Linked DNA regions of Homo sapiens: regions 1 and 2 are each linked to region 3. Evidence: promoter capture Hi-C in 16 types of primary human blood cells and fetal thymus (Javierre and others, 2016). All regions are on one chromosome and are shown on one strand. The core of a region is centred on a gene start or on the middle of the fragment in contact, and the rest is flanking DNA. Distances in the headings are between cores, read along the strand shown.

Evidence for each region. The method cuts DNA at HindIII sites, captures the fragments that hold promoters and counts their contacts. A CHiCAGO score of 5 or more calls a contact.
Region 1: the fragment with the promoter of KAT2B here is called in contact with the fragment with the promoter of NKIRAS1 in region 3 in 2 of 17 cell types (naive CD8 T cells and total CD4 T cells); the score reaches 7.5 in naive CD8 T cells.
Region 2: a fragment that was not itself captured here is called in contact with the fragment with the promoter of NKIRAS1 in region 3 in 1 of 17 cell types (activated CD4 T cells); the score reaches 5.5 in activated CD4 T cells.

Annotation. Positions count from the first base shown.
Region 1 is chr3:20,038,864-20,041,722 of GRCh38, forward strand. It overlaps KAT2B (lysine acetyltransferase 2B), which reads left to right and starts at 1,583. Exons shown (of 18, transcript NM_003884.5): 1 at 1,583-1,917. The coding sequence starts at 1,615. RefSeq lists silencers at 845-1,484, 1,655-1,784, 1,985-2,044 and an enhancer at 1,208-2,178. The HindIII fragment of the contact is 5,734 bases long and covers 1-2,859 here.
Region 2 is chr3:19,953,318-19,956,267 of GRCh38, forward strand. The region is part of intron 2 of RAB5A (RAB5A, member RAS oncogene family); the gene reads left to right. Among named protein-coding and RNA genes, the nearest start is that of RAB5A, 7.7 kb to the left of the region's middle. The HindIII fragment of the contact is 6,610 bases long and covers 1-2,950 here.
Region 3 is chr3:23,915,091-23,918,353 of GRCh38, forward strand. It overlaps NKIRAS1 (NFKB inhibitor interacting Ras like 1), which reads right to left and starts at 1,900. Exons shown (of 5, transcript NM_020345.4): 1 at 1,694-1,900. RPL15 (ribosomal protein L15) reads left to right here and starts at 2,042. Exons shown (of 4, transcript NM_002948.5): 1 at 2,042-2,083; 2 at 2,760-2,941. The coding sequence starts at 2,770. RefSeq lists enhancers at 1,504-2,303, 1,555-2,754, 2,684-2,783. The HindIII fragment of the contact is 19,179 bases long and covers 1-3,263 here.

The sequences.
Region 1 (2,859 bases), core at 333-2,832, 3.9 Mb before region 3:
CAAGTTGGGAGAGAATATTGCCTTTTGCCCTGTCTAAGCTAATATCACTGTTTAGATCTACAAACTCCCCCACCTCCCAATGTTTATATATTAACCTGCATTACAAGTCAAAATAACACAGAGAATCTGGAAAAAGAAGAAGGGGAATGTTTCCCACGAAAAGCACACCCCTTAAAGCGTCTGGCCTGAGAGCTATACAGCATGCATAAAATCTGATAATAAGCACATTATGACCCACATTGCATATAACAAAAAGTAGGGCACTTCTGAAGGGTCCTGAGAAAAAGCCCTGGGCTTTTAAAACCTGCTTAAGAAGGCGATCAACGGTACACCACTTTCAAACGCAGCACTGACTTGTATGCTCCACAGTCATCAACAGTGAAAACAACAGTTTTCAACAAGAGTTGGAAACACTGAGTTGAGGGTTTTTTTTTTCTTTTTAAAGTTTGAGGCCAAAATCGATATTTATTCTTTTGAATTATGCTTATATCTTTTTCCTGGTTAATACGCACGCGGTGGCACAATTTTGAAAACTACGTAACGTTATAGAACCACCACCCAGAAACGAATCCTGTTAACAAACTTTTTGTATTCAAACTTTTTCCACTGCATAGTTTTTGACAATGCTTTTTAGACAATCTTTCTTTTAGCAACCAGCACTTTCAAACAAAAATTACAGAGAATAGTAAGTTTTTTTCCCCTCCTCCGGCAGATTTGACCCAGAAATTGCTATGGGAAGAAAGTGTTAATTATATTAAAAAATAGTTTGACAGAAAGTATTTAAAAAGAGAAAGGGAGAACATCACGTCTTTATTTTGGTGAATTAGCAACAAAGAAAAAGATTAGCATGGACGGGTACTTTTCAAAAATATATTTTTTTTCCTCTGGCTCCCGCTAGGGTGGAGGAAGTTGTCTCTCTGTCAGAGACAGGGTGGAAGAGAGTGAAAGGACAAATGATTGAGAGGCTGCCCCCTCCCACTGGTGCAGGCGTGCGGGGGTCGGATGGGGGGCCGCGGAGGGGGGAGGTGGCCAGCAGGTGCCTGGGCTCCAGGCCCCTACCCCCACCCTCGTCCCCACCCTCACCCACACCCAGGGATTGGCCTCGCCCCCTGGCGGGCGAGCGGTAGGTGTCGAAGCACTGGGGTGGGGGGTGCAAACCCCGCGGGCAGCGGAAAAGAGGCCGTGGGGGGCCTCCCAGCGCTGGCAGACACCGTGAGGCTGGCAGCCGCCGGCACGCACACCTAGTCCGCAGTCCCGAGGAACATGTCCGCAGCCAGGGCGCGGAGCAGAGTCCCGGGCAGGAGAACCAAGGGAGGGCGTGTGCTGTGGCGGCGGCGGCAGCGGCAGCGGAGCCGCTAGTCCCCTCCCTCCTGGGGGAGCAGCTGCCGCCGCTGCCGCCGCCGCCACCACCATCAGCGCGCGGGGCCCGGCCAGAGCGAGCCGGGCGAGCGGCGCGCTAGGGGGAGGGCGGGGGCGGGGAGGGGGGTGGGCGAAGGGGGCGGGAGGGCGTGGGGGGAGGGTCTCGCTCTCCCGACTACCAGAGCCCGAGAGGGAGACCCTGGCGGCGGCGGCGGCGCCTGACACTCGGCGCCTCCTGCCGTGCTCCGGGGCGGCATGTCCGAGGCTGGCGGGGCCGGGCCGGGCGGCTGCGGGGCAGGAGCCGGGGCAGGGGCCGGGCCCGGGGCGCTGCCCCCGCAGCCTGCGGCGCTTCCGCCCGCGCCCCCGCAGGGCTCCCCCTGCGCCGCTGCCGCCGGGGGCTCGGGCGCCTGCGGTCCGGCGACGGCAGTGGCTGCAGCGGGCACGGCCGAAGGACCGGGAGGCGGTGGCTCGGCCCGAATCGCCGTGAAGAAAGCGCAACTACGCTCCGCTCCGCGGGCCAAGAAACTGGAGAAACTCGGAGTGTACTCCGCCTGCAAGGTACGCGCTCGCCGCTCTCGGACCGCGGATGGGTGCTAGGGGCCCAGCCCGCGGGACCCCCCTCCCCCTCCCGCTTCCACCTCCGCCTCCCGCCTCCTGCCTCTCGCCTCCCGCCTGGGGCCGCTGCACCGCGGAAGTGCTCTTGTCGCCCGCGCCCAATTAGCTTCTTCTTGGATAAGAGTCCTGCTGGGTTTGAAGAAGGGGGATCACTAAGACGGAGAGCCCTTCATTCCTTCCGCTTGAAAGGAGTAGCTTCGGCATCCGAGCTCCCGGGCTACCTTGGGGTTTTGTTGCTCTGTAGGAGCTCGCTGGAGTCACTTTCCCGGGAGTGGAGCGGTGCTCTCCATGTGGCGGGTGACCCAGGGGCAAGGAAAAATCTTTTGGGGGACTGAGTGGTCCCTTCTGCAATCGATCCCTTCCTGTGTCCCACTGGGAGGAACTGGGTGCAAGGAGTGGGGGTGGAGAAGACTCCCGGACTCCTGGCGCTTTGGGAAAGCGAAGGGGAGGAAAGCGCGGGGTGGGAAGGTGGGCAGAGTCCGAGGCGAGGGTCTTGTGGTGCCTGGCGCCCTCGGCTGGGGGCGGAGGCACTGCCGCGCGCGGTGACAGCCCTGTCATTATTGTATTATTACTTGTTTAGTTAAAACGCTGTCCCAGCTGCTCGAGGTGTAAACAGGATTTGGCAAAGTGACAGCCCAGCGCGGCGGGCGCTACTGCTCAGTTTGAGGACACCCATTTCTTGCTACCCACTCTCCATGCCAGTTTAGGCACCCTGTCACCTCCAGCTGCAGATCCAGATGTGGAGGCTGTGTTCCCGAGGTGGGAGGATTGCCCGAGGCCGCGGGGCAGGCTGGCCCTGCGCTGTCAGCAGCGGCTTTGTTTTGACAGGGTGACAGCTGAGGGGGGCGGGGACTTGGCCTTGTCAGCTCCTGCGGCCTGTGGCTG
Region 2 (2,950 bases), core at 105-2,604, 4.0 Mb before region 3:
CATTAATGAATTTTTCATAAAGATTTTCATTTCTATGTGTAGAGCTTCCTGTTTAAAAACAAAAAGGAATTTGCATCCAAATTTCTGTTAATCCTTTTTTTTTTTTTTTTTGGAGACAAGGTCTCTGTCGCCCAGGCTGGAGTGCAGTGGTGTAGCCCTGGCTCACTGCAACCTCCGCTTCCCAGGATCAAGCAATTCTCATGCCTCAGCCCCCCAAGTAGCTGGGACTACAGGCGCAAGCCACCACTCCTGGCCAATTTTTGTATTTTTAGTAGAGATGGGGTTTCACCATGTCGGTCGGGTTGGTCTTGAACTCCTGGCCTCAAGTGATCTGCCTACCTCGGGCTCTCCAAGTGCTGGGATTACAGGCATGAGCCACTGCCCCTGGCCCAACTTTCTGTTAATCTTTATTGGATACTTTTTCACTGTGCTGACCCCATGTGAATACTATTCAGGAGGTATGACAGTACCATTATGGTTATAGCTGTGGACACTATTCTTTTATGCTCTGTACTCATAGCTCTTCACCTTTAGGAACTAGAGTAGATGTAAAGCATTTAAGAATTTTAAGGTTTGAGCTATTTCATGATCAACCTGAAAGGGCCATAACTTGTAGGTAATACGTATTTTTGTTTTGACTGTCATGTGGTAGAAGTTACCTGAAAAATGAAGCCAACCAACTCTTTTGCATTTCAACTGTTGGTTTATTTTTTTTGAGACGGAATTTCACTACGTGGCCCAGGTTGGAGTGCAGTGGTGTGATCTAGGTTGACTGCAACCTCTACTTCCCAGGTTCAGGCAGTTCTCCTGCCTCAGCCTCCTGAGTAGCTGGGATTACAGGCCCACACCACCAATCCCAGTGAACTTTTGTATTTTTAGTAGAGACAGGGTTTTGCCATCTTGGCCAGGCTGGTCTCAGACTCCTGACCTCAAGTGATCCACCTGCCTCGGCCTCCCAAAGTGCTGGAATTATAGGCGTGAACCTCCACGCCTGGCCTCAACTGTTTAATTTTTCACTTTACTGTTTATATCTCCTAACATGAGTTATTGTTCTGAAGCACTCAAAATTTTAATCTCTATTTGATTGTGTTCGAAGGTGGATATCATATGTTACACTCTTGATTTGTGGATTCTGGATTCATTAAGAATATCAAGATTTCTTCTGTAATTTGTGTGGTTCTTCCTAAATACAATAACTTGATTTACGAATTCCTGTTGCGCTGTGTGCGGTGGCTTGCATCTGTAATCCCAGCACTTTGGGAAGCTGAGGTGGGCAGATCGCTTGAGTCCAGGAGTTTGAGACCAGCCTGGCCAACATAGCAAAACCCCGTCTTTACAAAAAATACGAAAATTAACCGGGCATGGTGGCACACACCTGTAGTCCCAGCTACTGAGAAGGCTGAAATGGGAGAATTGCTTGAACTGAAGAGGCGGAGGTTACAGTGAGCCGAGACTGCACCACCACACTCCAGCCTGGGTGACAGTGAGAACCCTGTCTCAAAAACAAAACAAAACAAAGAATCCCTGTTGCCTCACCATACTTCATGCATCCTACCCCTATAGCACTTCTGATGAAATTGCGTGCCGTAGATTTAGCAATTTAGAGAATTCTAGCTTGTTTGTATGGGTTTAAAGTTTGCATGACATTTATGTTTCTATTGTTGGTCTAAAGTTAGCCCAGAGATTAGCAGGGAGCAGTAGGCTCAGAGAGTTGTCTTCCTTCTTTACTTGGTACTGCATCTCTAGGCTTGGTAGCTCTTCAGTAAATACTCTCAAAAAATACTTATTTTTAAGAAGACATTTATGTGATATTTATAAACAAATTAATCCTCAGTGGTTAGAATATGCAGTGAAATAGCAAGCAGACAATCCTTTTTTTCTCTTCTGAGAAAAGTGCTTCATACCACAGTTACAATTTTGTATGCACTAATCAAAAAATGTGTTATAAACTCTAAAGTTTAGATGATGGAACTGTACATGAAAATAACATTCCTCTTGCTGGTTCTGTGATTTTTGTACATTAGCTTAGAACAGTGGTCCTCAAAGAGCGTTCCCACTTCCAGAAGTAGCTGCATTAACTAGGAACTTGTTAAAATGTAGAATCCCGTGTTGAATCAAAACATTTGGGTGGGACCAACAATCTAGGTTTTAATAAGTTTTCCAGATGATTCTAATGGCATGTTACGTTTGAGTAGTTGATTTTACATTGGTACTAACATTGATTCACCCATACATGGAATAATTGGGGGGTTTTTTTGAGGTGTGGTGTTTGTCAGATTTTTAAAAACATTGTTGACTGGGCGCGGTAGCTCATACCTGTAATCCCAACACTTTGGGAGGCTGAGGCGGGCGGATCACGAGGTCAGGAGTTCGAGACCAGCTTGCCAATGTGATGAAACCCTGTCTCTGCTAAAAATACAAAAATTAGCCAGGCATGGTGGCGTGCGCCTGTAGTCCCAGCTACTTGGGAGGCTGAGGCAGGAGATTCGCTTGAACCCAGGAGGCGGAGGAGGTTGTTGCAATGAGCCGAGATCATGCCATTGCACTCCAGCCTGGGTGTCTCAGCGAGACTCCGTCTTAAAAAAAAAATTGTTCATGCAACTAACCTAGTTTGAGAATTACATGTATTATGTACTGCTCACATTACATGTTATCTGTATCTCTTTATAGGAGAATGCCTTCCTGTTAGCCACCTGCCAGACATCTTTAGGAAAGTATGATCCCTCTGTCCAATCAAGAGTATTCTGCTTTTTCTCTACTTAGGGAGTACCCATAGTTTTCAGTCATCTGTACCACTGCTGCTCTCCTTTCTTGTCACAAATGATCAAGGCCTGATAATACACAAAATTAATTAAGAAATTTAGTGTAGGCCGGGCGCAGTGGCTCATGCCTGTAATCCCAGCACTTTGGGAGGGTGCCAGCACACTGGCAGATCACGAGGTCAGGAGTT
Region 3 (3,263 bases), core at 650-3,149:
ATTTTGCGGGGGTGATTAAATTAAGAACTTCCATACGAAGATATTATCCTGAATTATCTAGGTGGGCCCAGTGTAATCACAAGTGTCTTTATAAGAGACACACAGGAGTGCTGGAGAGGACAGAAGGTGTAATTGGAAGATGCTCCTTTGCTGGCTGTGAAGATGAAGGAAGCAGTCAGGAGCCAAGGAATTCAGGCAGGCTTCATAAGGTGGAAAAGCCAAGGAAATAAATGTACTCTCCCCTAGTACCTCCAGAAGGAACACAGCCCTACTGACTTTGGTTTTAGCTTGGTGATATTTACAGATTTACAGACCTAGTCTGATGTACAAACTAAAAGACGGTAAATTTGTATTATTAACCAACAAAGTTGCTGAAATTTGTTACAGGAGCAATGGAAGACTAACACAATTTCCTAAGCAGTCTCTCTGCTTCCATTTTTTCTCTCCTTTTAGCCTCAAAAGGAGCAATCCGAGTTATCTTTTTAAAATGTACGCCATATGAAGTCATCCTTCTGTTCAAAATCTGCCAATGAAATCCAAAGTCCATGTGAGAACCTTCACCTCTCCGACGTCATTTCCCACTTTCCCCTACTGTGAATTTCAGCCACACTGCTTCCCTGCTGTTCCTCTATTAATCTTGCATGCTCCAGTCATGGCTCTTCTCCCTCTGCCTGAATCAGACCCCTACTCTTACTCCCAGACTCCTATCCTTGAAGTCCTTTCTTAAATGTTACCTTCTCTCAAAGACTTAACCTGGACACTCCATTCCAAATTGCAACCCTCAGCCGCTAACACTCCCTCATCACTTCCCTCCCCTTATCTTTTTTCCTTAGCATTTACCACCAAACCCAAAACACAGCTTACTTCTGCTTACTGCCCATTTCCAAGAAGGCCAAAAATTCTGCGTTGTTTCCTGCTGCATCCCCAGCAACTATGCCTGGCACATATTAGACACTTAATAAATATTTGTTGAATCAATCAATGAACCAGATAGAGACTCTTAAAAACGTAAAGCTGTGATTTAAAAAGAAAGAAAGAAAAATATGATGTGGGAAAAAAGATAATCAAAACCGCTACGATTAAGAGATAATGATTCTCTTAAGCCTTTGCCACATCTGAACGCATAATCTGGAAGGAAATTAAAGCCACATGACTTAAATTAAAGCCAAGTGAAAATATTCTGGAGAAACAAAGTAAGCCAGTAACCTATTTCTCAATTTAAAAAAAAACCCGCAACGCAAAATGCCAGCATTTTCTCGGCATTTCTTCTCTAAAACATTCACACCTGCCAAACAGGTCTTGGCAAATAAACATTCTGCTCTTCTGAAAAACTGTGGTTCTCATGTTAGCAAATTTGGGACGAAATCCGTATGCAGAAAAAGCGCCGGGCCGCCCGCAATCCACCCACTCCATGACCCTTTTTTAGGACAAAATCCCTGGGCGCTGGGGCCTGCTGGAGGAGCTTCACGCAGTCTGGAGCTGAAGGGACACAGCGAGCGCCCCGACCCGCGACGCCCCGACTCCGCGAAGGCCTCCCTGGGAGGCTGGGGAAGCGTCGGGGGATCTCTCAGCGCAGCTCTGGGGCCCAGATTTCTGCGCCCGTCGTGCGGTGGCCAGAGAGGGACAGCGCAGCGCGGAGACGCGGAGACGCAGAGACTCCGCAGGGGGAGAGCCCGCGGTGCGTGAAACAAACCTGTTCTCTCCTCAGACCTCAAAGACAGCGGCTCCACCGCGGTACGCGGCCACCGGCTTTGGAGCCTGGACCCCAACTTGCCTCCTCTCGCGGAGAGACAGTCGCCGACGCTCGCTTAGCCGCCGAGACCTCGCCGCCAACTCTCTCACCTCTCGAGACGCCCAGGCCGCTCAGGCTCGAATCTTGCGGAGCAGGGGGCGGGACAATAGCGGCCGCGGCGCCCCACTCGGCAGAACTCCGCCACCAGGCGCGATGCCGGAACTACATGTCCCATGACGCTCTGGGAGGCCGCAGCTTTCCACCGGAAAGAGGGTGGCTGAGGTGGGGGAGGAGCCCAAAAGGCATTGTGGGAGTACAGCTCTTTCCTTTCCGTCTGGCGGCAGCCATCAGGTAGGCTGCGTTGAGGATCTTTGCTCTTCCATCCGCCTTTGATCGTCTTCCTCTTCAGCCATCCAGGTCCGGGGACCCTGCGTCCTCGGAGATAGGTCTCCCTCCTGTGCGGCCAGAGTTTGGTCAGGATGCGGGACAGCAAAGGGGTGGAGAGGCGGCCCCCGGGGCGGGTTGAGCGAAGATGTGATGGCGGCGCGAATTCGAGCTGGGCCCGGATCCTGGAGGAGGCGTGGGGCTGACGAATGGGGCGCCCGGGACAAGGCAGCCTAAAGTGAGGCTGCTGGTTGGGTGGGGTAGATGCATTTTCCTCGAGAGTTAATCCTCGGTGGCCGCAGCAGTACCTTGTCCTGTGATGTCAGCGGCATCTCCTTTCAGGTCCTCCTTGGGGACGCCGCCTGCCGCAGCCACCCGCCCCCTTGGTGCTCAGTTCTGGTTCTGTTAATTCGCCCCACCAAAACGTGCCGAGCACCGCTCTGTGCTGGGGTTGCGGAAGTGACTGAACGCGGCTCCGTGGGCGCAGTGGTGGGGGTTGGGCTAGCTGTCCCCGGCAGTTGGTGCAGAGCCATTTTCATTCCCGGCGGTTTCCTTGTTTTTGTTGGGGAACTAAGATGGACGGATACAGTCGTCTTATTGTACTTAAAGCGGATGATATTTAATACACAGTTTGATTTCACAGGTAAGCCAAGATGGGTGCATACAAGTACATCCAGGAGCTATGGAGAAAGAAGCAGTCTGATGTCATGCGCTTTCTTCTGAGGGTCCGCTGCTGGCAGTACCGCCAGCTCTCTGCTCTCCACAGGGCTCCCCGCCCCACCCGGCCTGATAAAGCGCGCCGACTGGGCTACAAGGCCAAGCAAGGTACGTGATCGACTGCGTGGATGCTTGGATAAAATTATATTCGAGAAAAGTTGGAAACCAGCTGTTAGGAAGACACTGCTGCCTCAGTGTCTTTCTTCGCATAGGGCTTTGGCAGAAAAAAGCTAGCAACACTGGTCAGTTACTGTATGCACTGTTGTCTAAAGTGGCAAGTGTGTCAAAGGTTACAAATCTGAATGAGTTCAGACTAAAGCAAAATAAACAGTGTGCCTCCCTGTGTGAGTAGCCTAAGGTGCATTGAAAAAGACTGGGATGTGTTTTATTTTTTTCTATTAGATAGCATTAACTTACTGTTGAAGTATTT